Regions from separate parts of the Homo sapiens genome. Here regions 1, 3, 4, 5, 6 and 7 are each linked to region 2. The links are contacts of gene promoters, found by promoter capture Hi-C in blood cells and fetal thymus (Javierre and others, 2016). All regions are on one chromosome and are shown on one strand. The core of a region is centred on a gene start or on the middle of the fragment in contact, and the rest is flanking DNA. Distances in the headings are between cores, read along the strand shown.

Region 1 (3,404 bases), core at 521-3,020, 310 kb before region 2:
TTGCTCTTTTCCATCCACGGAGACCAAAACACAGACCCCAGAAGACGATTAAAATATAATAATAATAAAACCCCTCAGGCAGGAGTTTCTGCTTCCCCGTCACATCTACTGAGAGGCACTGTGGACACATAAAGACTGTTGACTTACTTTTTTCTCCACCTTGGGGCAGGAGGGAGGCAACACCCAGAAATTATCCCAATTTTATAGAAACAAAGACAAAGAGCTACATATCCTAGCCAAAGGCAACAAGGAGCAGGCCTAGAGCCACCCGGAGAGGCAGAGCCCAGCAGCAGCAAGGCTCCAGTGACTCCCATCTCCCTGGCAGAGATCGTCCCAGCCCTGTGCCCTGAGGGTGTCCTGAAGATCATGGGGGCTCGAAACCATGAAAGCAAGCAAAGATTTCTGTACAGTGCGGTTCAGAAAAGTTACTGAGTGCCTTCAGCCCAGGATCTCCTGGTTGATTAGGGAGTACTAACACCTAGGTTAAGAAACTCTGATTTCATTCATCACAAATATTTATCAAACCACTGCCAGGACATTGTGGCAACCACATCCTGCTGTTTTTATTCGGAGCCATTGCCAAAGCTTGGTTCTCTCCCCCACCTTCCGGTATCTGTGAAGTTTTCAGTTTCTATCAAACTCCAGCTGGGGGAGGGAACCGGGGCTGGCCCTAGTCGAGTAAAGTTCCACCACCAGGTCCACAAAGAGACTGCAGGGAGGCGTGGCCAGGCCGGAAATTCTGACAAAAAGTTTTGGCCCTCTGGTCCTAAAAGCAACTACTTCCTGATCGCTCCTAGTCCTGGGGTGGGGATGCAGTTCTCTGGCTGAGTGCCCCGCCGGTGGGCTGAGCTGGGGGCTGCCATCGCGGTGGATGGAGGTGGGGGGTCTGATCTCCGCACTCCAAGGCGCTCCGCTAGTACCTGGAACAGGGGAGTCTAACCCCCTGCCTTCCAATGGCTAAAGTTATTTTGGAGCACAGTCCCCTCCTAGGGTGTGAGCTCCGGAGGGCAGGGCCGCCTCCTCCACACTCCCTCGCCCCCCCCCCCCCCAGCAACCCACGGCCGGCGCTTTGAGGACTTGAACCCGGCCCAGACCCCGGGGCCCAGGCCTGCTCCGACCCGAGGAAGGAAAAAGGGGAAGCCAAAGGAAACTTCAGATGGACGCGGGGTGCGCTCGCCGCGGCCAGGGGCTCCGCTGCCCCCGCCCCACCCTCCGAGGGAGCGCCTTCCAGGGGCCCTGGCCGGCCTCCCACCTTGACCCGCTTGCCCTGGATCTCCAGCGTCTTCATGGTGAAGTCGACGCCGATGGTGCTTCCCTGGCGCTCCGAGAAGGCGCCGGTCTTGAAGCGCTGCACCACGCACGTCTTGCCCACGCTTGCGTCGCCCACCAGCACCAGCTTGAACAGGAAATCGTACTGCTCGTCCGGGTCCCCCGGGCCTGGGCCCGGCCCTGCCATGGCCTAGAAGAAGCCGAAGGGCCGGCGCTCTGGACGCTGGGACCGGCCTGAGCTCACGCAAGCCGCGGGCCGAGCTCCGCCCGCTCCAGCCCACGGGCCGCCTGGCTACGTGGAGCCGCCGCAACACCTGAACCCCCAGCACTGCCGACCGCCTGCCTCGGCCTCGGCCCCGCCCCACCCCGGCTGGCTCCCGCCCCGGCCCGGCTCGGCCCCGCCCGGACCCGGTGCCCCGCGGGTTCGGCTCCCCCCCGGACCCGCCAAGCCGGGCCCTCCGCAAAGCTCCGGCCGGTCCTCAGCTCCGTGCCACACCAGTCTGGCCTGTAGGCCCGCCCCAGCCCGCCCCCGCCCGCCCCCGGCTCCGCCCTCAGGCTGGCACCCACTCCGCCCCCAGCCCAACCCTCGGGCCCACCTCAGCCCGACCCGGGTTCCGCCTACGTCCCCGCCCCCGACTCCGCCCTCAGCTCCGACCTCGACTCCGCCCCCAGGCCCACCTCAGCGCGCCCCGACTCCGACCCGACTCTGCCCTCAGCCCGACCTCGACTCCGCCCACAGGACCACCTCAGCCCGCCCCGACTCCGCCCTCAGCCCGAACTCGACTCCGTCCCCAGCTCCGACCTCGACTCTGCCTTCAGGCCCACCTCAGCCCTCCCCGACTCCGCCTTCAGCCCGACCTCGACTCCGCCCTCAGGCCCACCTCAGCACACCGCCCCGACTCCGCCCACAGGCCCACCTCAGCCCGCCCCGACTCCGCCCTCAGGCTCACCTCAGCTCTGACTCCGCCCCACCCGACTCCGCCCTCAGCCCCGACCCCAGCCCGACCCCGCCCTCAGCACCTCGGCCCCTCCTCCATCAACACCCCGGCGCGCCCACACCGCGGATCCGTCTGGCCCCCAAACCGCTGCCCACCCCGACCCTTCATCAGCTGGGACCCCCAGGTGCTGTCCCGCGCCTCCTGCTCGCCCCCCACCCAGGCCTGGTCCGCCTGCCCGGGATCCCCTACCTGCTGCCTCCCAGACCGCCGGTCAGGGACAGGCGGAGACCATGGCTGGAGCTCCGGGCCTGCAGGCCTAGACTAAGAATGACCCCCTCCGGAATGGATCACGGAGGAAGGGGACGACCACAGCAGTGTCACCTGAGTGCCCACTCTGACAGGCGGGCAGTGCAGTCTCCGAGAGTGGTGGGGGTCGCTCTTCCCAGGGGCGGAAGGGAAGGGAGGGAGCAGGCTGCAGAAGGCCAGAATCCAGGCTGGCTACAAAACTGCGGAGGAGCCCAAAATCCTTGTGAGGAGAGGACCCAGGGCCCCATTTGATGGGAAGCTAGGCCAGAAGGAGGAGCTGGGAGCTCTTGTCTCCAAAAGGCAGCCTAGCAGTGGTTGAAGCAGCTGCTAAACGGCTGGATGACCCAGCTCAGAGCAGCTACAGGCCCATTTGGGAAACTGACCCAGCCAAAAAGCACCAGTCTAGGAAGAGGAACAGAAAAACTTGAAGGGATTTCTGAGGAAGGGCAGACCAACTCCTGAGTTGGCCCAGTGAACCAGGGCGCCTCAGAGAAAGGAGACCCAAACATCTGTAAGAAGCTTATACTAGATCCAACAGGACTGGGCTTCCCAGCTCCGAAGATGGGAAGGAATTGACAGCACCCCTTACCCCTCTAGACAGCTTCCTTGTGGCACTCCAATTCCAGGTATTCAACATATTTAATGAATGGCTACTACAGGCGGGCATTGTCCTGGGGCCTTGTAATGCACCTGTGGACAAAGCAGACAAAAATCCAGGAGAAAAGGGGAAAGTCTTCAAGCTGAAGGAGACTTCGCAGAGAGCAAGTCCCCCAGTGCCACTGTGAGGACCCCAGCCAACCTTTCAGGTCAAGATAGAAAGGGACTGAATGAGCAGTCTGCAAAGGCAGACCCCGTGGAGAAGGCAGAAGAGTTGTTTCTTCTGAAAGTTTG
Region 2 (3,002 bases), core at 164-2,663:
CAAGCAATCCTCCTGCCTCAGCTTCCCATAGTGCTGGGATTACAGGCGTGAGATACTGTGCCCAGCTACTGACAAGGATCTTAAACTCAACCAACCAAGACTGGATTTGTCTTTGTGCCCCTTCCCCCACTAACTGGGTCCTCTGAGTACGTTCTCTTATCTCTGTGGAAGACATCTCCATCTACCAGGTCCCCCAGCTGCCAACTTGAGAACCATCTTTATTTGCCTCTTCTGTGTTTCCTGACCAACCAGCCCCCAAGTCCCGTAGTTCCCTCTAGCCTGGGCCTTCTCCCTCACCTCCCAGCATCTTTAGCTTGGGCATTTGACCAGAGCCCTGACCTGTGTGCCTGGGAAAGGTGGCCAGCCTCTCCAGCTCTCCCTGTTTCTCCACTGGGCATTAATGTGTTCAGTGCTGGAGAAGCGGCATGGAGAAGACCTTCAGTCTTCAAGCTTTATAGCCCCCAGCTCTCATCTCCCCACACCAACATTCTGAGTCTGCCAACTCAGTCTCAGGTCTTTTCTGACTGCTCCCAATCCAGTCCTGCCACTCCCAGTGGCCTCTCCATCTCCTGGCTTGCAGTATCTTTTATGATCTTGTCCCTTCTGACCTCTCTCACCTCATTTCCAGAGACACCAGACCTCTTGGGTCATGCTGTTTCCTTGCCCGAAATGCTTTTCCTTCCCCTTTTGGCTTGGAGAACTCCTTTTTATCCTTTAAGCTCCAGTGTAAAGATCTTTTCCAAAAGCTTGGAACTGTTCCTCCCCATCCCATACCCTCAGCACACCTTTTACTCCTGGGTGTCATCCCTGGGCCCGGCATTTACCCCTTCTTATTCTGTAATTATCCATTTATCTCTGTCCTTTACCCGTGAAGCTGCATTGCTTTGCCAAGAACTTGGTCCCCAGCACATTACTGCCAAAACCTTGAAGACTGACGTCTTCTCCATGCCTCTCCTCCAGTACTGAATACATTAATGTCCTGCAGAGAAACAGGGCGAGCTGGAGGGCTCCCGTCACATGGGTCGGGCCTCTGGTTCCTCCAACTAGGCTCAGATAGAAATCTCAGAAATGTACATGACCTGCCCCCGACTCCATGGCAACCCTTCACCCAGAGGGGGTCGGCACAATATCTGTGGCTGAGTTTTTGCCCTCACCCCACTTTCACGCGTCCTTAGGGCGCTGAGCGCTCCCTGCAGACGCTTCTTCCCGGGGCTTACCGAGCAGCGACAAGAACAGACTGTGGTACGCTTCATAGTCGTCGTCCATGGTCGTGGTGCTGGGAGGGGGTGCTGAAGGGCGTGTGTGAATGTGTGTCGATGTGGGCTTGCTTGCGTAGGGGTACCGGGGTATCAGATAAACCGTAACTCCAAGTCGTGCGAAAGGCGCTCAGCTCAGACTGCAGAAGCAACCTGTTGCCGTGGCTACGGACGCCCCGCGCCAATTGGCTGAGCGCTGTCACGTGTTAAGAGCGAGCCCGCCCTGCCGAGCGCCTGCTGGCCCCACCTCGTTTTCGTCCAATTCTGGGAGGGGCAGCGAGCAAATCCACGCCCCGCCCAGTTCTGGGCTTGGTGAAAGGCGGGATTTCTTTGTTCGGCCCAGTAGTCCCTGAATCCAGTGTAGAAAGTCTCCGGTTTTCCCGTGAAATGTGGGATCTTCCGCAGGTCTCCATATCTCTAGGCCTCAGTTTTCTCATAGGAAAAATAGGCCCTGCCTCCTCCAGAGGGTTAGGAAGAACCAAAGTGAGCTGTGGCCAGATAGAGGTGTTGGGTATGTTCTGCCCCGCTTATGGCAGGGTGCCATGGTTTGGAGTTACAGAACCTGAGGACCAGAGAATAATAATAAACCCTTGAAATGTGCATCAACTGATAAGCAAAATGAGGTATATCCATAGGATGGCCATAAGAAGGAATGAAGTACATGCTACAATATGGATAAACCTTCAAAACAGTATGCTAAGCAAGAAGCTAGACACAAAAGGCCACGTGCTGTATGATTCCATTTATGTGAAATGTTCAGCATAGACGAACCCACAGACACGGAAAGTAGATGAATGGTTGCTAGGGGATGGGGTGAGTAATTGAAGTGACTGCTAACAGGTGGAGAGATTCTTTTTGGAGTGGAAAAAAGAAATGGAAACTTCTGGAATTAGTGATGATGGCTGCACACTGTAAATGTACTAAACCACTGAACTGTACACTTTAAAATGGTTAAATGGTGGCTTTTAGCTCAATTTTTAAAAAGTTAAAGAGAAACACCTAAGCCCTTATTCCTTTGCTGAGACAAGCTATCTTTGTGACGCTTGCAAACAGATTGTTGCCATGGGCCACATTCACACAGCACTCTTGCAAGCCAGGTACCATTTTAGCACTACATGTCTGAACTTCATAATTACCATCATTGTGTGAGGTAGACACCACTATCCCATTTTTAAAAGACAAGTTAACAGGTACAGAGGTCAGGCAACCTCACCTGCAAGAAACAGGAAAAGCCAGGCCTAGAGCCTGAGCAACCTGGCTGTGTCCTGAGCTCCCCTGGTGCAGAGCTCGCCTCCTGCATTCACACGGGCCCACACTCCCCATGGAGATGCTGGGGGAAGGTATGTGACCACCAGCCCTACCACAAAGCCACACCTGATGCCCTGAGCTTGGTGAGCTCGCCCCACCCTCCAGGCCCAGCTGGGCCCAAGGTTTCAGAGGCCCCTCTCCACCCTCTTTGGGTGTCTTGTCCCTACTCCTTACCGCTTTTGTTCCCTTCCATTATTAGGTGCCCTTCTTTCTCTCTGTGAGGGTCTGTACAGAACTTGTTTATCTTTGTGCCCCTCCCCACCACAGGGCTTTACACTTTGTGAATGCTACTTGGATGTTTGTTAAATGAAAATGTGATGGTAAACTATAAAGTGGGTTTGCCTTGGGGAGAGGGAGGTGTGGCCAGTTTTCCTGTTCTCTGGTCAAAATCTATCCTTCTAAAAACTGACACTCACTAAAGTGGAAACAACCAACTAC
Region 3 (3,269 bases), core at 455-2,954, 320 kb after region 2:
GAGGGAGACCTGTCTCAAAAAACAAAACAAAACAAAAATTCGGGAAAAAAAAGACAAAACTCCAGGCTGGGTACAGTGACTCACATCTATAATCCCAGCACTTTGAGTGGCTGAGGCAGGAGGACCACCTGAGGCCAGGAATTCAGGACAAGCCTGGGCAACATAGTAAGACCTCATCTCTAAAAAAAATTTAAAAATTAGCTGGGCATGGTGGCAAGTGCCTCTAGTCCCAGCTACTTGGGAGGCTGAGATGGGAGGATCCCTTGAGCCCAGGAGTTTGAGGCTGCAGTGAGCCATGATTGCACCACTGCACTCCAGCCTTTCTGACAGAGCAAGACCCTGTCTCTTCAAACCAACCAACCAACCCTAAACACAATAGTATCTTTTTTTCCCCTCCGAGACAGAGTCTTGCTCTGTCACCCAGGCTGGAGTGCAGTGGTGCAATCTTGGCTCCTGCAACCTCCGGCCCTGTGTTCAAGTGATTGTCCTGCCTCAGCCTCCTGAGTAGCTGGGATTACAGGTGCATGCCACTACGCCCAGCTAATTTTTGTATTTTTAGGAGACACAGGGTTTCACCATGTTGGCCAGGCTGGTCTCAAACTCCTGACCTCATAATCCGCTCACCTCAGCCTCCCAAAGTGCTGGGATTATGGGTGTGAGCCACCATGCCCAGCACACTATAATATCTTTTCTATCTTCAACATTCATACTGAATTATCTGTAGGACTTCAAGCTGCCTATCTTCTATTTACTGTTAGGATGGTGAGGCCTTAGAACCCCTTGTTCCTGGAACCTAATTGCTTTAAATGTATGGGATGGGTTAGAAGATATTTATTTAATTTATGCATAATCTAAAAGTTTGCACTAACTTAGATAGAAGTGAATGCTTATACTATGAAAGGACCACCTTAATCCTGACCTCCCAACACAGCAATCCTCTATTACCCAGCTGTCAGCATAAACTTACAACAGTTCTCTAGGTAGCATTCTGGAAGGAGAAATGGCATCAGCAGAATGTTTTCCCTCACTCTCTGAATGAGCGAGCTGTGACCTTATCTCTTCCCTTTATGGATCTGGGTTAAACCTATCACTCATGATATTAACATCCATATATTCACTAGAACGGAATTTTTGATGATTGATTACATGTATCCCTGCAGGGGATTTTAAAAAAACCAAAATCTAAATAGTCATCATCAGAATCAAAACCAGAACTATACTCACCCTGGGAGGTCATTCTTTAAAGCTTCTATTCTGGATTAAATATATCCCAATTCCCCAGCCACTTGAAAATGACTAATGAATGATCAAAAGGTATATTAAATAATCTAATTTAGCCAGGTGTGGTGGTGGGCACCTGTAATCCCAGCTACTAGGGAGGCTGAGGCAGAAGAATCGCTTGAACCTGGGAGGCAGAGGTTGCAGTGAGCCAAGATCACGCCACTGCACTCTAGCCTTGGTGACAGAGCAAGACTGTCACACACACACACACACACACAAAAACTAATACATTAAAACAGTAAGTACCAAATGTCTAAATGATAAAAAAAATCAATTTCAAAGAATAAGGCACCTGTATTAGCCCGTTCTCACACTGCTATAAAGACACACCTGAGACTCAGTAATTTACGAAGAAAAGAGGTTTAAATTGACTCACAGTTCTGCAGGCTGTACAGGAAGCATGGCTGGGGAGGCCTTAGAAAACTTACAATCATGGCAGAACACAAAAGGGGAAGCAGGCACATCTTCACATGGCCAGCGGGAGAGAGACAGAAAGAGAGAAGGGGGAGGTGCCACACACTTTGAAACAACTGGATCTCATGAGAACTCTATTATGAAAACAGCAAAGGGAAAGTCTGCCCCCTTGATTCAGTCACCTCCTACTAGGCCCTTCCTCCAACTCTGGGAATGTGACATGAGATTTAGGTGGGGACACAGAGCCAAACCACATCAGGATCTAAAACACACATATAAAATAAGTAGCCAAATATATGTCTGAATAGAGAATCATCTCACATTTTTTGTCCAATGTTTACCTAAAAATGTACAATTTTCCAAATGACTCAGATTTTTATCTGAAGTCCTAACTTTATATATATCCAATCTTCCAGAGTATGAAATGTGGAAAAAGAGTGAATTTTAGGAAGGCAGTAATAAAGAAATCAAGCTTTCCAAAGCAGATGTTTTTCACACTCGACATCGTAATATTCAGCAAGTTAATTATGTATTGTTTTTCCTTTTAAAAAGCAATACATAAATGCAAAAAGTCATTAGCAAATCAAATTTAGCAATATATAAAACGGATAATTAATACATCACAACCAAGTGGGATTCATCCTAGGAATGCTAGACTAGTTACACATGTGAAAATCAGTGTATTTTACCATATCAAAAGTCTAAATAAATTTTTTAAAAACCAGATGTTATATCAATAGATGCAGAGAAAGTTTTTACTAAAATGAAACATTCATTCATGATAAAGACTCTCAAAGTAAGAATAGAAGGAAACTTCCTTAAACTAACGAAGGGTATCTATGAAAAACCTATAGCTGACATCACATTTAATGGTGAGAGAATGAATGCTTTCCCTTGAGATCTGGAACAAAGTAAGGATATATTTTCTCACAAGCCCTATTTAACAACACGAAGTACTAACTGGTGCAATAAGGCAGGAAAAATAAATAGAAAGCATACAGATGACAAAGAAAGAAATAAAACTCTATTCATAAGTAATATAACTGTCTAGAAAATGCTAAGAATCTACAAAAAAAAAAAAATCCCCCAAACAAAAGACCCACTAACAAAAAAACTCAACCTTCTTGAACTAAAAAATAAGTTGCTTCAGTAAGGTCACAGGACACAAGGTCAATATACAAAAGTCAATGGTATTCCTATGTACCAGCAATGAGCAACTGAAATCCCAAATTAAAAAGCAATACCATTTATCACAGCCCCCTCCCATTAAAGGAGCACTTAGCTATAAACGTGACAAAATATATGCAGGATCTGTATGTGAAAAACTACAAAACACTGATAAAAGAAACCAAAGAAGAGTCAAATAAATGGAAAGGGACACCATGTCATTTACTGGAAGACTCAATATTGCTAAGACTCAATTCTCCCCAGTTTGATCAACATAATCCCAATCAAAATGCTAGCCAGGTCTTTTTATACATATATAAAGTTATTCTAAAATTTACATGAAAAGACAAGGAATTAGAATAGACAAACCATTCTGGAAAAGAAGAACAAAATTAGGGGAGTCATAT
Region 4 (3,390 bases), core at 672-3,171, 340 kb after region 2:
GTCTCTACAAAAATACAAAGATTAGCAGGGCATAATGGTTGGGGCCTGTAATCCCAGCTCCTCAGGAGGCTGAGGCAACAGAATCGCTTGAACCCGGGAGGCACAGGTTGCACTGAGCCGAGATGGTGCCATTGTACTCCAGCCTGGGCGACAGTGAGACGCTGTCTTTAAAAAAAAAAAAAAAAAAGATACAAGGCATGCATTGTATAATTTATCCATTTAAAGTATACAATTCAACAACTTTCAGCACATTCACAGAAGTGTGCAACCATTACCACAGTCAATTTTTTTTTTTTAAATTGGAGACGGTATTGCTCTGTTGCCCAGGTTGGAGTGCAGTAGTGCAGTGATAGCTTGCTGCAGTTTTGAACTCCAGGGTTCAAGCAAAGCTCTTGCCTCACCCTCTTGAGTAGCTAGGACTACAGGTGCACATCACCACACTTTGCTAATTTTTAAATTTTTTTGTAGAGACAGGATCTTTCTATACTGCCCAGGCTACGGTTAATTTTAGAATATTTACATCCCCTCAAAGAAACCTTTTGATCCTTGGCAATCATCCTCTTATTCCTCCATTCCCCTGGCCCTAAACAACCAATAATCTACTTTCTGTCTCTCTAGATTTGCCTATTCTGGATATTTCATGAAAATGTAATTTTACAATATGTGACTTTCTGTGTCTGGATTCTTTCACTTATGTTTTTAAAGTTCATCCTTGTTATAGCATGTATCGGTACTTCATTTGAATGCTTTACTAAAGGGAAACATTCTTTTGCAAAGTAAATAATCACCCCCAACTTAAAAAATAAATACATATTTCAGGCCAGGCCCAGAGGCTCACGCCTGTAATCTTAGCACTTTGGAAGGTTGAGGCCAGAGGATCACCTGAGCCCAGGAGTTTGAGACCAGCCTGGTCAACATGGTGAAACCTCATCTCTACAAAAAAATGCAAATAGCTGGGCATGGTGGTATGCATCTGTAGTCTCAGTTACTTGCAAGGCTGAGGTGGGAGGATTGCCTGAGCCCGGGAGGTGGAGGCTGCAGTGAGCCATGACTGCACCACTGTATGACTGCACCACTGTACTCCAGCATGAGTGACAGAGCAATATCGTCTCAACAAACAAACAAAAAACATATTTCAGTTTGCTTTCGGTATGTTATAATAGATGCCAGGACATAGGTATCCCTCACAATCGAGTATGAAGATGTTTCATTACAAAATAAAATTTAAGGAGTCCCTAAATCCAAACAACTTCTGAAAATCATTTTTTAAATGCCCATATATTTAGAAATAAAGATCTTAATATGTCTGCAAGTTTATACAAAAACAAGTTTAGTGAGAAGTACCTAGTGAGAACTGATTTAAGCAACTAGATCTAAGGTATCCTGTTTTCATTTATTGTAAGTCCCACTGATTAGATTCTGTTTGTTCCCCTCTCTATTGTCCTCTGCCCTGAGAAACTTAAACCATCCATTCTTTTTCTCATGAATACAGTTTGAGCACTAAATTGCAAAGAAAAACATGGATCTGGTTTAGGACTGTGCACATAGTCCCGAATGAAATACATCCCACAAGAGAAAATGAGGATAAAATATAACACTGCTATTTATTTAATTCAAAGTATATGTATTCTTATATTTAGAAGAGCCAGACAGGCACAGTTTCTTCATCTGTAAAATAAAGGTGGATTATGTAATCTTCAAGGTCTCCTCTGTCTCTAGAAACTATGATTTTTCTATTTAATCCTTTTGAAAACAGACAAAAAGAGCTGTAGTATGACCTCCCTAAGGCTAAACAGAAGCTTGTCAACAATGACTAGGGTTAGGCTCCTGATTTATCCCTGCACTCACTGGAGATAGGCAGATAAATCAGCCTCAACCCTGACCTCACAGAGTTCACAATATCGTAAGGGAAGAAAGTGAGGGGTAAAGAACTTGACAGCATACTTTAGATACAGAGCCAGGAGAAGGTAAGGGAGTAACAGGAACTTTATAATTTCTTCTTTCAAGCCCTTCACACCTCCCTGCCAAATCTGATCATCTAAAGCAAGCTTGTCCAACCCATTGCCAGCGGGCCGCACGTGGCCCAGGATGGCTTTGAATGCAGCCAAACACAAATTCATAAAGTTTCTTAAAACATTATAGGATTTTGTTTGTTTTGAGACGGAGTCTCGCTCTGTCACCCAGACTGGAGTGCAGTGGTGCGAACTCGGCTCACTGCAACCTCTGCCTCTCGGGTTCAAGCGATTCTCATGCCTCGGCCTCCTGAATAGCTGGGATTACAGGGGCACGACACCACACCTGGCTAATTTTTGTATTTTTAGTAGAGACGGGGTTTCACCATGTTGGCCAGGCTGGTCTCGAACTCATGACCTCAGGTGATCTGCCTGCCTCAGCCTCCTAAAGTGCTGGGATTACAAGCGTGAGCCCCTGCGCCCAGCCCATTATGAGATTTTTTTTTTTTTTTTTGCAATTTTTTTTCAAGCTCATTAGCTATCGTTAGTGTATTTTATATGTGGCCCAAGACAATTCTTCTTCTTCCAATGTGGTGTAGGGAAGTCAAAAGATTGGACACCCCTAATCTAAAGCAAATCCACATTAGACCCCATCCACTTAATGTTCTTACACTAACATCTGGAAATAACATAAAACTTGTATGTTTTACATTTCTACTTTTGGCCTGGGGTAAAAATGAACCAAGAATAATTAAACCACACTCCTCAGGGGACATAAGCTATACTGATTTAAAGAGCGAAACGGCAAAAGTACTTTTTAAATGCTCTTCAGTATTAATCAGAAGCCCTACTTGGACCAAAAGCAACGGAGAAGAATTTGTCTACCCTTTCCTTTAGCAATTAAAGATATTTCTATAAAGTGATGATTACCAAAGGATTATTTCAGCCACCATACTGTTAACTCATTTTGTCACGTGTCACAAATTCAAATGGCCTACCTTGCATTTCTGAAGCAAAATTGAACTTTTGTTTCTTATATGTTATTAAAGGAGAACACTGTCCTTGGGAAGCAACTCTAAGGTTGATAACTATCTGGGGCTTCAAGGGATCTTGTATTTATCTCAGGTCCAATTAAAGAGCAAAAAAATTCTAACTATACGTATTTATTGAGGCATTAAGAAAAAATGTTTCAGCTGGATGCAGTGGCTCACACCTGTAATCCCAGCACTTTGGGAGGCTGAGGCAGGAGGATCACTTCAGGCCAGGAGCTGGAGAGCAGCCTGGCCAACATAGTGAGACCCCATCTCTACCAAAAATACAAAAATTAGCTGGGCATGGTGTTGCACACCTGTAGTCCCAGTTACTCAGGAGGCTGAGATAGGAAGATTGCTTGAGCCCAGGAGGTAGAGGTTGCAGTCCCAGTTACTCAGGAGTCTGA
Region 5 (3,221 bases), core at 583-3,082, 370 kb after region 2:
TATATCTTCTTTCAGAAAATTTCCAAGAGAAATTAAAGAAATTTAAAGATGGTCACATCAGTACTTTCTTTTTGTTAAAACAGGAAATTGTTTTTAAAACTCAGATCTTAAGACAACTCTACTCCTGTGGAAAATTACTTATTAGCAAAAATGCTTGTTACTGAAGTCGGAAACATCTGAAATTGCTGTTCAACTGTATATATATATATACATATATATATATACACATATATATATCTATGAAAAAACGATTTCATTTTGAGTGTTCAATATGTGCCAGAAATACCATAAACTGGGGTATGGCAGGTCCCTGGCTCTCAGGTAACCTATGGATTTAGCTGAAAAGACAAATAGAGGCACGATGCATTTGCTGATATATTTTTTTTTAAGACGGAGTCTCGCTCTGTCACCCAGGCTGGAGTGCAGTGGCATGATCTCAGCTCACTGCAGCCTCTGCCTCCTGGGTTCAAGCGATTCTCCTGCGTCGTCAGCCTCCCAAGTAGCTGGGACCACAGGCACGCACCACCATGCCCGGTTTATTTTTATATTTTTAGTAGAGATGAGGTTTCACTATGTTGGCCACGCTGATCCATTTGCTGAGTTTGTTTTTTAAACTCACTAACATAACTATTCGGTTTCTCCTTCATATTTAAGTGCCTTACAGACTGAAATAATTAAAAATATTTTTTCAGTTCATTACTCTGATAGAACAGTAAATCTGATAGACAACAAATTTCCTTAGCTTTGGTCTAGATCATCCATTATAGGATCCATAAATCACATTCAAATGAGCAATAAGGGTACCAGGAAAAGGAATGAAAAAAGGCTACATCTTTGAGTGTTTTTATGTAATGTACCTAAAGAGAGGATGCATCCCATTCCTTCAAAAGTGTACTTTTTGTAAATCAGTCATATACATAGTATAGAGTGAAGAGGGTAAAGTTTAAAAAATAATTGGGAGAGAAGTACTGGCAGCAAAATACCCATAATATAGTTACCTTCTAATTAGAAAATTATCACCTGGCTCTCAACTATCAGACACTCTTGTGCAGGAACGTCACTGCCCTGATATCTACCCATCTGCTTTTTAAATGTACTATATATATGAAAATACAAGCACTGGAGGACATTGAAAGAGCAACAAAAATGATTCTTTTTATTGTGTAAGAGAAATGTGGAGGCCTTCAAACACACACACACACACACACACACCATGGAGCAGGGGGGAAGGGAGCAAGTTAAATATATTTTAATACTCCTAAAAATCCCGTTAGGCTTAGAAGTCCCAAGAAAAACTATGCATATGTGACACAGGGATGGAAGCAAGCACTTTGCTCATTTCTGCATCAGTGCACACACTCTACACTGGGGTCACCTGTGAGGGAACTAAAGGTTTTCCCTTAAGATCACAATACATTTCAGGATCTAACAATTCTGATTAACAGCCAAGGCAGTGAAGAATGCCTACAGACTTACTATTTGTTTAAGCTTCTGTATTCAGGGAATGAACTGTGACACAACTGAGCCACCAACTGCTACATTTTTTAAATGGAGCTTTTAAAGAACACAATGGGTTTTGAAATAAAGCTCAACTCTTACCACACCTCTTTCCATATTAGTTTCTGCACTAAATGACTGGGTCAAGGAGGGCTGGCTACAGGCAGAGTGGATTTCATAAATCACCATCCCCTCTTAAATGCGTGCTTCACCTTTTTACTATTTTAAGTATGATTTTCTCAGGTTAAAAAAACTTTTCCCCAAAAGCTGCACACATGGAACCTGCTTTTCATCAGAACTCTGTAAAAACTGCTTTGTGAGCCTCTCTGTAACTGCTTTTCATATACTTCATTAAGTATTCAAGTTTCTCAACACAACCACTCATTTTAACATTTTAATGCCAGTCTTGCTCATTAAACTATTTTGTGGTAGTTTTTCTCAGTTTAATAGTGAAATGTATGAAAGCACTGATTCCACAGAGAAGAAGGCTTTCTCCTCTTGGTCCACAAGCTGACAGATTAATTGCTTATTAAATATACACTTTCAACCCACAATTATCTCTTTCACACACACCCTTCTGGAAATTCTATCTCAGGAGCAAACTACAACTTTGCCCAAATTCAGATGACAGCTGCAGTTTTAGGGGAACACAATCTGGGGCTGCCAGTGCAGTCAGCCTTCAAGCTTTGTGCCTGTCAGATAAAAGAACAAAAGGCAGTGCTTCCTCCCTCAGCCCCTCCTTAGCGCTGGAGGACGGCAGGCTTGACAGAACAGTTCCAGAGAAAAAGGAACCATGCTGAAGCAAGTGAGAGTTTCCCCTCCACAAACATAGAAAACTACCAACCCACCTTGGATAGCTGCCTCCTGAGGCTAAAGCGCTGAACCATGATCACCCAGAGGATCTTCAGACAAAGCAATCCACGAAGGGTTTTTTAAATAACAGCTTCTTGGGAAAGTCGGTGGCAGAACATTTTGAAGACTGCCAGAGAAGTGCAAAGAATTTCCCTGGGAGTCTTAGCAAACTTGGAAAGCCTTCATTGTTCTATCAAGAGATACTGGAAAACCTACGTGGGAGAGGGCAGGGTGGGTGGGGCAGTAATCCTGAAGCCGCTGTGCCCAGTGCCAAGCTCTTCTAGCACTTCCTGTGAGTCAGCTGTGAGGGGTCCAAACACAAGGACCACCCCTTCCCTTTCCACCAGACCAGTAGGCGAGGATGCCGCTGTGGTGCTACCTGAAACTCCAGAGGACAGACCTGATGTTCCGGTCTCTGTGGGAGGAGGAGTGGTGTGCTGGGGTCAGACAGCATCTGCTCCAAGTAGGAGACAGGCAACTGCACCAATTCCTCCCCTCTTCAGCCGTCCCAGCAGCAGAGAGTGTCCACTGCAGACAGCAACGCACCCTTCTCTACCTCCACCTTAGGTAATCCTTTAAGGTGAGGCAGTGTGAAAAAAAAGGAGGTGGTGAAAAGCAAGCCCCTGGCTGTACCAGCTCCCTGCTCAAGAAGGAAACTCCTCCCAGCTGGGCTCGGCAGCTGTGCGGCTTTGTCTAGCATAATTGGCCAAGCCTTTCCTCTTATTCACAGGGAGGGGTCCTGCCTCAGGAAGGAATGTCAGGTGCAGAGAGGCATACTCCGACGGTGACTTCAACTTGTGCCAAAGTTAAACACATTAAAGTGGCCTCCTGAGGTAATTGCCCTCTCTTGTTGGAATGAAGTAATTTTTTAA
Region 6 (3,087 bases), core at 216-2,715, 470 kb after region 2:
TGATAACAGTGGTCTGCATGTTTTTTTATTGGTTTGTTTGCAACAGGGTCTCACTCTGTTGCTCAGGCTGGAGTGTGGTGGCACTATCACAGCTCACTGCAGCCTCAACCTCCCAGGTTCAAGCAATCCTCCCACCTCAGCCTCCTATGTAGCTAGAATTACAGGCATGCGCCACCACGTCCAACTAATTTTTAAATTTCTTGTGTTGGGTCTTGCCGTGTTGCCCAGGCTGGTCTTGAACTACTCCTGGGCTCAAGTGATCCTCCCTCCTCAGCCTTCCAAAGTGCTGGAATTACAGACATTAGGCACCACAAGAATGATCTGCATCTTGGTTATGGTTGTGGTTGTATGGGTGTATACATAACTTAAAACTCATCAAACTGTACATTTTAAATAGGTACAGTTGATTGTATGAATAGATATACAGCATACCCTACTAAAGTTGTTATTAAAAAAATCATTAGATGAGATTTAGAGCAGATTAGAAGCAGCAAAATAGTGGATTTATGAATGGGAAAACAGGCAGCAGTAAGTATTCAGATGAAAGTACAGAAAGAAAAGAAAGGAAAGAAAACTCAGAAAAGAGCATTAGAGAGAAAGGAGGCACAGTGATAGGTACTGCTGCAAAACTATAATGTGGGAGAAATGCTGCTGTGCTGTTGCTGAAAACATTATATAAGGCTGGGTGTGGTGGCTCATGCCTGTAATCCTAGCACTTTGGGAGGCTGAGGCAGGCAGATCACCTGAGGTCAGGAGTTCAAGACCAGACTGGCCAACCTGGCGAAACCCCGTCTCTACTAAAAGTACAAAAATTAGCTGGGTGTGGTGGTGCGCACCTATAATCCCACCTACTGGGGAGGCTGAGGCAGGAGAATCACTCGAACCCAGAGGGTGGAGATTGCAGTGAGCCAAGATCATGCCACTGCACTCCAGCCTGGGCGAAAGAGTGAAACTCTGTCTCAAAAAAAAAAAAAAAAAAAAAAATATATATATATATATATATATATATATATAAATAATTCTGGTTTTGGTGAGGCAATGTCTAGCATTCAGGCACTTAACCAATTAATATTAAGAGTATAGAAATCAGGGCCAGGTGCAGTGGCTCACGCCTGTAATCCCAGCACTTTGGGAGGCTGCGGTGGGTGGATCACGAGGTCAGAAGTTCAAGACAAGCCTGGCCAAGATGGTGAAACCCTGTCTCTACTAAAAACTACAAAAATTAGCTGGGCTCTGTGGTAGGCACCTGTGATCCCAGCTACCTGGGAGGCTGAGGCAGGAGAATCGCTTGAACCTGGGCAGCAGAGGTTGCAGTGAGCTGAGATCATGCCACTGCACTCCAGCCTGGGCAAAAGAGTGAGACTCTGTCTCAAAAAAAAAAAAAAAAAAAAAAAGGATAGTGTTGGGAACAGGCCCCCAAATCTGGCCATAAACAAAATTTCTGCAGCACTGTGACATGTTTGTGATGGCTATGACACCCACGCTGAAGGTTGTGGGTTTACCATAATGAGGGCAAGGAGCACCTGGCCCACCCAGGGCGGAAAACCGCTTAAAGGCATTCCTGAACCACAAACAATAGCATGAGCGATCTGTGTCTTAAGGACATGTTCCTGCTGCAGATAACTAGCCAGAGCCCATCCCTTTGTTTCAGCCCATCCCTTTGTTTCCCATAAGGAATACTTTCAGTTAATCTATAATCTATAGAAACAATGCTTATCACTGGCTTGCTGTCAATAAATATGTGGGTAAAACTGTTCAGGGCTTTCAGCTCTGAAGGCTGTCAGCTCCCTGATTTCCCACTCCACACTCTATATTTCTGTGTGTGTGTGTCTTTAATTCCTCTAGTGCCACTGGGTTAGGGTCTCCACAACCGAGCTGGTCTCAGCAAGTGGTGTCCATACATGGGGCTCGAACCTGGGTTGAAGGGTCGCCAGAGCGACGGTTGGAGAACGTGGAACTAAGCTGGAGGACACCTGAGTACTCTTAAGCAATCCCCGTGGTGAGTAAGAAGGGGAGCTCGGAAGCATCAGGGTATCAATGGGACAAGTGTGGGCTCTGGTTCATTCCACCTTGGAACCTTTTCACCCTAATGATGAGGAGGAAGGAAAGTATAATGAACTAACAGAAGACATGACAGAGCAGGTTTGTTTGCCAGCTAAAGCTAAAGCGGCAAAGGAGGAAGAGGTTCCTCCCTACCCTTCTGCACCCCCTCATTATTTTGAAGAAAAAGAGTAGCCTGACCCTCCAGATCTTTCTTTTCCAGAGGACACTGGGTGAAAAGTAGTTGCCCCAGTGACCGAGCAGTGCCTCGAGTGACCGCTCTCAGTTCTATTCAAGCAGGAATCCAGCAAGCTAGAAGAGAGGGTGATTTAGAGGTTTGGCAGTCCCTGTTGGAATACACCCCCCAGATCAACAGGGAAATATTATAGCTACATTTGAGCCTTTTCCTTTTAAATTACTCAAAGAATTTAAACAAGCTATTAATCAGTATGGACAAGGTTATCCTTTTGTAATGGGACTGTTAAAGAATGTTCCTGTCTCCAGTCAGATGTTGCCAGTGGGGCTTATAGGATTACTTCTAGGTAGATCTAGTTTAAATTTAAAAGGACTGCAAGTATATACAGGAGTCATTGATTCAGATTACAATGGGGAAATTCAAATTGTTTTATCTACTTCTGTTGCCTGGAAAGCAGAGCCAGGAGAGCGCATAGCACAGCTCCTGATTGTGCCATATGTGGAAATGGGGAAAAGTGAAATTAAACGAACAGGAGGATTTGGAAGCACAAATAAACAAGGTGAAGCAGCTTATTGGGTGAATCAAATTACTGATAAATGTCCTACCTGTGAAATAACTATTCAGGGAAAGAAATTTAAAGGTTTGGTAGATACAGGAGCAGACATTTCAGTTATTTCTCTACAGCACTGGTCATCCTCCTGGCCAATTCAACTCGCTCAATTTAACATAGTTGGAGTTGGTAAAGCCCCTGAAGTATATCAAAGTAGTTATATTTTGCACTGTGAAGGGCCCGATGGACAACCTGGGACTATTCAACCAATTGTAACTTCTGTACCTATAAATTTATGGAG
Region 7 (3,426 bases), core at 32-2,531, 260 kb after region 2:
TTAGGCCCTGGATCTACCTCTCTAGATACAAATACAAAATATTTGCATTTTTTAGTAGAGATGGGGTTTCTCCATGTTGGTCAGGCTGGTCTCGAACTCCCAATCTCAGGTGATTCGCCCGCCTCGGCCTCCCAAAGTGCTGGGATTACAGGTGTGAGCCACCATGCCTGACCTAGATCTTCATTTTACAGTATGTTTCCTTTCCCACGTACCCCACTCTAGTCACACTGGCCTTGTTTCAGTGCCCAGTGCTTATCCTATTTTTTCTCACCATAGTGCATTTGCAATATTGCCTACTTAGCTGCCTTTCTTCAACTCTCAGCCTGCCATTTTGCTAAATGCTGGGTATGTAATGATGAACAAACAGTGTCTGCTTTCAGGAGGTTTATGGCTGAGTGGGGAAAAGTGGTAGAGAGAGAAAAACCAGTAACCAAACAATATAAATTGTGTAAAGTGCTACAAAGAAAAAGAACAGAATATTATGAGAAAAGGAATAGTGTAAGGGAGGAAAATCTATTTTAGTCTGGGAGGTCACAGAAAGCTTCTTTTAACAAGAACACATTTGAACTGAGTCCTCAAAGATAGAAAAGGAGATTGCTACTTTAATCAGGCCATAAATGAGGAAAAGCACTATTACAGTAGGTTTCACATGCCAAGAAAATAGAGAATTTGGAATTTTATCATAATTGAGATGAAAACAGAGTTAAAGAAAGTAGCAATTCAAAAAGAGAAAAATAAAAAGGATTTATCTATTCACTGCTTCTTAGAATTGACTTGGTTGAAAGGTTTTGATCATCTTACCAAAAAGGCTTACGGAAGGAACAGAAGGATGCTGAGAGGAAAAGGTCAGTAAACAGGGAGGAGGGCACCTGCCAGTAACCTAATGGAGTATATGGAGAGTTGTATTTACAAGGCTTACATAACCAATGAGTCAGCAAAAAGTCAGGTGTCAATGGATCTCTTCTGTGGCCACTCTAAGCAGCTAGGAAACTTGGCTCTCCGAGATAGGAATATACCTTCCAGTAACACCTGCCTAAGTTAGGATGAGGAAAAGTAAACTTTAATGTTTAGAAAAAAAACATAAGAAATAAGATCCAACTTAAAGCAAGGTGATTCTGGTAGGATTTTGCAAATCTAATGCAACTCATTTCTCTAATTTGTAATAAAACACTTATTAAAGAATCCAGAAGCAAGACTCCAAAATCTGCTAAAAGTAAAACATACATTTTAAAGAGAAAAACAACATCCTTATCTTTTTTGAGGTCCATAAATATTGGAGGGCTACTCTCTACAACTATTTTTTCTCTAATAACGGCTAATATGTATAAACAGTAACAGAAAAAGGCTTCATATCAATAGAATTGAGTCTGGCAAAGAAAATATACAAAAGAGAACATAAAAGAGATTCAGTCATAGTAGAGGCAAAGAGATACAGCATTCACAACCACTTGATATCAAACAGCAATGACAATGAACCCAAGACAAATACCCACCAACGCACAGCTATGAAAATAGCAGACTCCTTATCCTGCCTTCCTCCACCTCCATACTTATGTTCTCAGCCTATTACTGTTCCAGTGGCAACAACTCTATAACAGGAGGAAGGCTTTATTTTTCCTTCTCCCGCTTCAGACTATAGAAAAAGCAGGGAAAAAAAAGCATAATTATGACTATTCAAAGAAAAGAAAAGAGGTTTGTTAGTCTGCATTCTTTGCTCTGGAAATTTCTGGCTTCTGTCTGTTGAGAGACACATGAGAAAACTTGGATTATCTCTGAAGGTCACAACTGAATGACCACAAGTTATGTTTCTCCTTCTGGTTCCCTTGGTCATCCTTTTCCATCAAACATGATTTTGCAAAATGTTTTAGTTATTGCTAAGAAGCAATTCCATACAGCTGATATAGAAAAGTCAAAAAATAAGAAAAAAATCACAACACATTTATCTTACCAAAACCCCCTGTCAGGCAGTCTGCTGATTTTGCTTGCCACAAAGCTCATCCTTCATTTGTGCACTGCCAGAGAAAGCTTGGATGGTAAAAAAAAAAAAATCACAACCTCTCTTGGCTATAAGCTCTTTCCATTTGTTCCAGCTTCCAAACTGCAGAGGAGCTGTGGCATAGTCTGTCACTGCTGCACATACTTGGTTTCCGAGAATAACGCTGCAAATGAGGACAGCTACCACTGGGAATGCTTTCCCCCACCAAAGAGCCGCAGTGAAGCTTCTAGTGGATCCCTGGGCTTCTCACCTTCACAGTCTCAGAGAAGTGACTTTCACAAAACAGGCAGGTACAGCCGCACCACATTAATACCCTCGCATAGCCAATCCTCCGCAGTGCCCACCTCAGCCTATGTATAGTTTCAATTCTATCTCCTGTAGCAACTCTTAGAGCTTTCTATATCTGGGAGCCTAGGAGAACTCTGTGCTGAATAAACAGAAAGCTTCTGCCAAACAAGCATCCGTGTGTGTGCGCGCGCACGCAGTTTGCTAGAGCAGCTAATGCAAATGAATAGTTTGACTCTGAGAATGGAGATCACAGACAGTATCTGCCTCTCTTCTCCAGCTGTGAGCATCTTTTATAAAAGACAAAAGCACCACACTGGTTGGATTTAAAGCTACAGGGTATTAATTCAACATTCACATTTGTCTTCTCATTTAAATCAGATAAGGTTGAAAGAATCGCTTAAAGAAGATTAAAAACATTCTAAATAAAATAACACTGTTTAGGTAGCTTGGTTCAATAAATACAAAGAAAAAGCAATCTACCTATGTTTCAATAAAGGCCCAGAAGACTGCCAGAACAGATTTCCATGCTTTTGTAATGTTTCTTCTCTTATTTTTCATTTTAGGTTGGCAAAATCATTTAAAATGAAAATAGAACATGAGTGAGAGAACAACTAGAAAAAGAAAACTGAGCACGACACTCTAAAATCGTATTCACTATGGACAGAGAGAAAAACACTCTGAAATCTAAGCAAGAGATTAAAACATCACAATCATAAGCCCAGGCTCAGCCCCTGTATCATCACACACACTATTTACTGAACACCCAAGACACTACGTGACAGAACTGAATATCTTATTAAGACTGTTTCTGACTTGAAAAAGTCACTTTGGGATTTAGGCAAGTTATCAGATCTGAACCTTATTCCTTTATTTGTAAAAGCAGTTGTGGGGAACACACATAGGAGGAATTTAAATGATTACAAAATATAGTGTGGCATGTATAAAGTATATCTACTAATATTTCTCTGAGGTTAACATGCAGAAAGGAATCAGACATGAAGACAATTTAATACAGTAAAGCCTATGAGCCTGGGGGTGTGATATGAGCCTTTCTATGAGCCTGGAGGTGTGATAATTTCTTTACTTCTAGTTAAGTATGGGTCTGGAAGCTCAGGCCAGCACAGTACTAACAGGTCAAAGAA

What was found. Contacts are between HindIII fragments. The CHiCAGO score rates a contact against its expected background, and 5 or more counts as called.
Region 1: a contact is called between the fragment with the promoter of RAB43 here and the fragment with the promoter of EFCAB12 in region 2, in 2 of 17 cell types (naive B cells and total B cells). The highest score is 7.4, in naive B cells.
Region 3: a fragment that was not itself captured here is called in contact with the fragment with the promoter of EFCAB12 in region 2 in 1 of 17 cell types (M2 macrophages); the score reaches 5.3 in M2 macrophages.
Region 4: a contact is called between a fragment that was not itself captured here and the fragment with the promoter of EFCAB12 in region 2, in 1 of 17 cell types (M2 macrophages). The highest score is 5.1, in M2 macrophages.
Region 5: a contact is called between a fragment that was not itself captured here and the fragment with the promoter of EFCAB12 in region 2, in 4 of 17 cell types (M2 macrophages, M0 macrophages, M1 macrophages and 1 more). The highest score is 10.2, in M2 macrophages.
Region 6: a contact is called between a fragment that was not itself captured here and the fragment with the promoter of EFCAB12 in region 2, in 1 of 17 cell types (M2 macrophages). The highest score is 5.0, in M2 macrophages.
Region 7: a fragment that was not itself captured here is called in contact with the fragment with the promoter of EFCAB12 in region 2 in 1 of 17 cell types (M2 macrophages); the score reaches 6.4 in M2 macrophages.

Annotation. Positions count from the first base shown.
Region 1 is chr3:129,120,034-129,123,437 of GRCh38, forward strand. RAB43 (RAB43, member RAS oncogene family) reads right to left here and starts at 1,771. Exons shown (of 3, transcript NM_198490.3): 1 at 1,253-1,771. The coding sequence starts at 1,456. The region is part of intron 11 of ISY1-RAB43 (ISY1-RAB43 readthrough); the gene reads right to left. RefSeq lists an enhancer at 1-800 and silencers at 1,581-1,760, 1,781-2,000. The HindIII fragment of the contact is 2,447 bases long and covers 584-3,030 here.
Region 2 is chr3:129,427,223-129,430,224 of GRCh38, forward strand. It overlaps EFCAB12 (EF-hand calcium binding domain 12), which reads right to left and starts at 1,414. Exons shown (of 9, transcript NM_207307.3): 1 at 1,218-1,414. The coding sequence starts at 1,266. RefSeq lists a silencer at 1,551-1,600. The HindIII fragment of the contact is 3,479 bases long and covers 745-3,002 here.
Region 3 is chr3:129,751,184-129,754,452 of GRCh38, forward strand. All of the region lies in intron 4 of TMCC1 (transmembrane and coiled-coil domain family 1), which reads right to left. Among named protein-coding and RNA genes, the nearest start is that of TMCC1, 140 kb to the right of the region's middle. The HindIII fragment of the contact is 921 bases long and covers 1,245-2,165 here.
Region 4 is chr3:129,767,091-129,770,480 of GRCh38, forward strand. All of the region lies in intron 4 of TMCC1 (transmembrane and coiled-coil domain family 1), which reads right to left. Among named protein-coding and RNA genes, the nearest start is that of TMCC1, 120 kb to the right of the region's middle. The HindIII fragment of the contact is 249 bases long and covers 1,798-2,046 here.
Region 5 is chr3:129,791,979-129,795,199 of GRCh38, forward strand. The region is part of intron 4 of TMCC1 (transmembrane and coiled-coil domain family 1); the gene reads right to left. Among named protein-coding and RNA genes, the nearest start is that of TMCC1, 100 kb to the right of the region's middle. RefSeq lists an enhancer at 2,325-3,221. The HindIII fragment of the contact is 693 bases long and covers 1,487-2,179 here.
Region 6 is chr3:129,899,862-129,902,948 of GRCh38, forward strand. It overlaps TMCC1-DT (TMCC1 divergent transcript), which reads left to right. Exons shown (of 3, transcript NR_037893.1): 2 at 1,846-1,999. Among named protein-coding and RNA genes, the nearest start is that of TMCC1-DT, 7.5 kb to the left of the region's middle. The HindIII fragment of the contact is 6,418 bases long and covers 1-3,087 here.
Region 7 is chr3:129,686,229-129,689,654 of GRCh38, forward strand. The region is part of intron 4 of TMCC1 (transmembrane and coiled-coil domain family 1); the gene reads right to left. Among named protein-coding and RNA genes, the nearest start is that of PLXND1, 81 kb to the left of the region's middle. The HindIII fragment of the contact is 1,484 bases long and covers 540-2,023 here.